2 separate regions of the Homo sapiens genome follow, and region 1 is linked to region 2. Evidence: promoter capture Hi-C in 16 types of primary human blood cells and fetal thymus (Javierre and others, 2016). All regions are on one chromosome and are shown on one strand. The core of a region is centred on a gene start or on the middle of the fragment in contact, and the rest is flanking DNA. Distances in the headings are between cores, read along the strand shown.

Evidence for each region. Contacts are between HindIII fragments. The CHiCAGO score rates a contact against its expected background, and 5 or more counts as called.
Region 1: a contact is called between a fragment that was not itself captured here and the fragment with the promoter of COMMD8 in region 2, in 1 of 17 cell types (neutrophils). The highest score is 5.0, in neutrophils.

The regions. Positions count from the first base shown.
Region 1 is chr4:47,936,451-47,939,351 of GRCh38, forward strand. It overlaps CNGA1 (cyclic nucleotide gated channel subunit alpha 1), which reads right to left. Exons shown (of 11, transcript NM_001379270.1): 11 at 1-1,379. The region is part of intron 1 of LOC101927157 (a long non-coding RNA gene); the gene reads left to right. Among named protein-coding and RNA genes, the nearest start is that of NFXL1, 23 kb to the left of the region's middle. The HindIII fragment of the contact is 2,926 bases long and covers 1-2,713 here.
Region 2 is chr4:47,462,249-47,465,011 of GRCh38, forward strand. It overlaps COMMD8 (COMM domain containing 8), which reads right to left and starts at 1,454. Exons shown (of 5, transcript NM_017845.5): 1 at 1,338-1,454. The coding sequence starts at 1,403. It overlaps LOC107986277 (a long non-coding RNA gene), which reads left to right and starts at 1,635. Exons shown (of 3, transcript XR_001741683.3): 1 at 1,635-1,703. RefSeq lists a silencer at 1,185-1,444. The HindIII fragment of the contact is 2,743 bases long and covers 1,078-2,763 here.

The sequences.
Region 1 (2,901 bases), core at 1-2,500, 470 kb after region 2:
TCCAGGTCCCTCAATACTTGAAAATTCTGTGTCAATAAGCGGTTTCAGAAATTTCTCAACCTTGGTTAATCTTTGTTTCAGTTTCTGCTGCATGGACTCATACTCAGCCAAGATTCGGGCAAACCTGGTTTGCAGGAGGTCTACTGACCCCTCCATTCGAGTAACCTTCTCTTCAAGATCTTTAGGATCACTGCCAGCATTTGCAATGTTTAGATCCAGTAGACCATCTTTCATTAAAATCTGCTTCCCTTTCTCTTCCAGCATAGTTTTGGCATCTGGGTACTCAGTTAGAGCTTCCATGAGGTCATCTTTTGAGAGACAGAACAGGTCTGAGTAGCCAATACTTTTAATATTGGCCGTTCTTCGATTGCCAGCTTTGCTCCCTTTAATGTTAAGAATGCTGATCTCACCGAAGTAGCTGCCATCGCTCAATACCACAAACTGAGTGACTCCATCATCTGCCACCACAGCGAGTTTGCCTTCCTTGATAATGTACATCTCTCGTCCGATATCCCCTTTCTTGCAAATATAATCTCCAGGACTGTAGACTTGGGGTTGCAATTTCAAGACCAACTCCACCAACAGACCAGCTTCACAATCAGCAAAAATGCGTACCTTTTTTAATGTGTCTAAGTGAACGTTGATGGCAATTTCTGCTCTTAGTTTATCAGGTAGATACTTTAAGACTTCTTTCTCATCAACTGTTTTTTTGTTGGTCCACAGGTAGTCAAACCATTTAATAACCCTCTTTTCCATATCTTTGCTTACATTTCGAAAATGCATATATTGCTTGATAGCATCAATTCTTGCTTGAAATTCTGCTCTGGCTGCATTCATGTTGGAAATCATAGAACCTATGTTACCAACGATGGTAGCAAAAATTAACACTCCAATTAGGAAATCAACCACCACAAAGACATACTCAGAATCCCTCACGGGAGGGGGTGTTTCACCAATGGTAGTCAAAGTCAGTGTAGACCAGTAAAGGCTGTATACGTATTTTCTAGCCAAACGGCCAAATTCAGGATCATTAATATCAGGGTAGACCCATGTATCATTTCCAAATCCAATAGCTTTAGAAATAGAGTAGAACACACATGCATTCCAGTGGATAATGATGACGATATACATAACAAGGTTGGAAATCCTGAAGATGTTTGGATAGTTTGTCCTTGTTTCTGTTCTCTGGAAGAACTCAAACATACGAGAGAACCGTAACAACCTGTTTAATCTAATTTCTGGATAGTTCCACCCTAACTTAAAATACAGCAAATCAGTTGGTATCAGTGACAGAACATCAAGTTTAAATTGCAAGTTGGATTTATATTTATTTATGAGTTTAAGTTCTTCCTTTACCAGCAGTCCTTGTTCTAGGTAACCTAAAATAGAAAATAAAATCAATTCAGTGTTTCTCCTTTTTATGTCATTGTGAATTTTTGTGAATAACTGTCAATTAACTTTGTTGAGGTCAACAGAAAAATTCATTTTCAATAAATATGCCTTTAACAATGTAATAAAATACAAATACTAATAAACCTATGGCTGTAGAAAATATTCTGCTGTAGAAATAAAAGGTAAAATTTTGGCCAGACAGCTCACATCTGTAATCCCAGTGCTTTGGGAGGCTGAGACCCAATATCACTTGAGCCTGGGAGTTTGAGGCTGCAGTGAGCCATGATAGCACTACTGCATTCCAGCCTGGGCAACAGCGAGACCCTGTCTCAAAAAAAAAAAAAGAAAAAAAAAGAAAAAAAGAAAAATTTTGTAAGTGCAAAAGTGAGAGTGTACAAATCTCTCAAGGTCTATCATCACCATCCAGGTAAAGCCATTCCTTTCATGAGTAGCATTCTTGTGATATTGTGAGATATATATATATATATATTTGGTCCCTGGCACAGAACTCTTAAAACTCTTGTAATTTCCTAAGCAATATGGTTACTAAGTGCATTTTTTTTTTTTTTGAGTCAGAGTCTTGCTCTGTCACCTAGGCTGGAGTGCAGTGGTGCAATCTCGTCTTGCTGCAACCTCCGCCTCTGGCTTCAAGCAATTCTTCTGCCTCAGCCTCCTGAGTAGCTAGGACTACAGGCACGTGCCACCACGCCCAGCTAATTTTTGTATTTTTAGTAGAGACAGGGTTTCACCATATTGGCCAGGCTGGTCTTGATCTCCTGACCTCGTGATCCACCTGCCTTGGCCTCCCAAAGTGCTGGGATTACAGGCATGAGCCACTGAGCGCGGCCCTAAGTCCATCTTTTGTTGTGGTATTTGGTTCTTGACCCCAGTTCCTGAAACAGAGCTCTTTATCCCTTGATATTTCCTGGGTGATAGAAATGTCTTTTGTTCTGGCCAGGTGTAGTGGCTCACACCTGTAATCCCAGCACTTTGGAAGGCTGAGGCAGGAGGATCCCTTGAGTGCAGGAGTTTGAGACCAGCTTAAGTCTCTATGATATTATTTGAAAGAAAAAAAGAAAGAAAGAAAGAGAGAGAGAGAGGGATGGAGGGAGGGAGGGAAAGAAAGAAAGAAAGAAAAGAAAGAAAGAAAGAGAAAGAAAGAAAGAAAGAGAAAGAAGAAAGAAAGAAAGAGAAAGAAAGAAAGAAGGAAAGAAAGAAAGAGGAAAGAAAGAAAAAGAAAAGTGTCTTTTGGTCTAATGAAGCAGCCCTTGGTGAGGTCCAAGATGGGGCTGGTCACCAGAAAGACTAAGTTATGTTTAGAAGCTTGGAACTTTTACCCCAACCTCCTTCATCCAGGAAAGGGAGAAGCACTGGAGACTGAGTTAATAGTCCATCATGCCTCCATGATAAAACCTCTATAAAAATCCCTGAACTATGGGGTTTGGAGCATTATCAGGTTAGTGAACACATCTATGAACTAGGAGGGTGCCACACCCCAATTCCATGGGG
Region 2 (2,763 bases), core at 204-2,703:
GGAGTTAAAGATTAAGGGGCTTAAATTGTTGAGGACACTCAAAATGGAGGCAGTAAAGAGGTAGAAGAGATGTGAAAAGGGGGGGCCATGGATGAAACCTAGAACGTCAGGTTGAGAGGGGCTGGGTGAAAGTGGTGGTGCCACAAACCGAAAATGAGGCTACGGGAGGAGTAGGTCCAGGGGGAAAGAAGAGCTGAGGCAAGGGCATACTGAATTTGAGGTACCTGTGGCAGAAGCCTGACACTCAGGGAAGAGATTTTGGTTTGGGGTTTTTGGGGTTTTGTTTTGTTTTTTACCTGGCATTCTTGAACCATAGAGGAAGAAATTTTTGGCTGGACCTAAAGATTTAGAAGTCATCGACATATATGGTAATAAAGGTTATGGGCCTTATCTAAATGGGTAGAGTGAAGACAAGGAGAGCCAAAAGCCAATAAAACACTCAGAATCAACAGATCTGAGCATAAGTTCCAGCTCTGCCACTAACTGGATGGGCAATCCTGGGCAAGTTAGCCAAAATTTCTGCTGACATTTCAGGTTCCTCACTTGCAAAAACAAAGAAAAGAATTAGGTGTTTTTTTTTCTTGACCCTGGCAGGAGGTAAGTTCATTCCTTTCTGTCTCCTCCACACTTTCTCCAGTATAAATGGAATAGAGGAAACAGGAAGCCAAAATTGAGACTTATAAAAAAGATGCTCCACCAGGGCACAGGCTGTGTCTCACTCACCATTTACCTCATCCCATCGGGGCGCTCAATCTATGGTAGACTTCAATGAAAAACTGGCTGAACAAATGAATGTGGTTGCTTTTTCCAGATTCTTACAAGCCAGGTTCTTTTACAGACTGGAAGTCAATGGGTACATCACCTCTTGGGACGATCCTAACTAAAGTAACTCGCCCAGTTATTTCTCTTCCTACCAACCACCCTCAAGGGGGGAGGCAGGGTCCGCTTCGGTCTTTGTCACATTGTATTCCAGCACCTAGCTCTGTACCTGCTGTCCGGTAGGTAGGGAGCCTTTGGGAGGTTATGTGTTGAATGAATTAAGAAAACGTATACTAAGAGGCAGCAAACACCGACTTAAGCTTTCAAAGCCCAGTCTGGTGTGGGCGCTTCTGCGCGCAAAGCCCCTGGAGCTGCACCTCTAGGCTGGGGGTGGCGCCCCAAGCTGTCCTCCTAGGCTCCCCAGGGAAGGCGGGGACCAACCACCCGAAATCACGCCCCTTCCTCCTCCCTTCCCTAGGGAGCTTGCGAAGGCGTCCGGGTCGCACCCGGCCTGATCCGCACGCCGGGCTGTCGCGAATCCCAGGCCCCGCGCCGCTTCCCCCGGTACCCGCCCTCACCTGCGGGCCCAGCTCGGCCGGCAGCTTCTGCAGCCGCCACAAGGGCGTCCCCTCTTCCGGCTCCATCCCTGCGCGAAGCTGGGGCTTGGGTCACGTGTCAAGGCTGGCCGCTTGTCTAAAGCTACGACTCGCCCACGTGACTCTCGCCGGCGGGGAGGGGCGTGGACCCAAGAAGTCCCTGTGCGCTTGCGCAGAGACCGAACTACCGCTTTCCCCGTAACCAGGGAGACTGCAGTTTGCAGTGATGTGGCTAAGATACCCTTGTGCTATTAAAGGCACATTTACGTATCTTTCAACGCAGTTTGTACCTTTGTTTAGGGTTCTATTGAACTTTCTCTGTGCTCTTTAGAAAACCGTCGAATAAAGGTAACCATCTTTTTGGGTGCCTGGGCATGGTCATTGTCCCAGAGTTTTAACAGAAGTCTCTACTAAAGTATCCTGATTTGCAAGGTAAATTAAGGTTTTGCCATGAGCAACGTTCTGTATATAGATCATCCTAGGGAGAAGGTACTATTTTCAGCCCTATTTGCAGAAAGCAAACATGATTAGAGAAGTCACTAAGGTTGTCAGATTTAGCAAATGAAAATACCAAGCGTCCAGTTAAATGTGAAATTTCAGATAAACAATAATATTTTGTTGTAAGTATCCCCTAAATATTGTATGGGATATATTTATACTGAAAATTATTTGTCCATCTGAAATTCAAATTTAACTGGTGTCCTGTATTTTATCTGGCAACGCTAAAAATCACTGACCTAAGTAAGAGGCCCAGTCTGAAGTTAAACAAAATCAATCAGACTCAAGAGCCATGCTATTAATGTTGGACTAAGCTCAAAGTCCAAATATCCTTTCTGTTATTTCTTATTACAGCTGTTACTTTAATCAGGTGCTGAAGAATTCAGTGGTGGTAAAATGAGCATGTCCTGCAAAAGCGGATAATAATAACTAGTAGACCAGAAACAGGAATTACAATCTAATTTATAAATTTAATAATAAAAGTGGTGCAAAATGGTGAAGCAGAAGAGAAAGTATTCAATCTATGGGCTACGCAGAGAAAAACTACTCATTAGCAGCATTCTAGGTTTACCTCCTACGTCCTTTCTCTGTGTGCCTCAACTCTAAAAGGTGAAGTCAATTTCTTTCTCCCGTGAGTTTTCATGATATTTTAGCTGTCCCTCACTTATTTACCACTTTCTAGTTCTTAATGCAGATAGATGCACAACACTCATTGCCCTATCTTAAATGTAATTGTCTTAAGATACTTTGTGAATAGGAGCTCCCCTAGTAATAGTTAAAATGAGAAGTCTGGAAAACTACTTCACCTGAGTCTTTCTGTAAATCTAATGATGGGTAAGGTCTATTTTGAGAAAAAAACTTAAATTTTATGTATTATAATAATTGGGAGAAAAGTACTTTCAAGCATCTA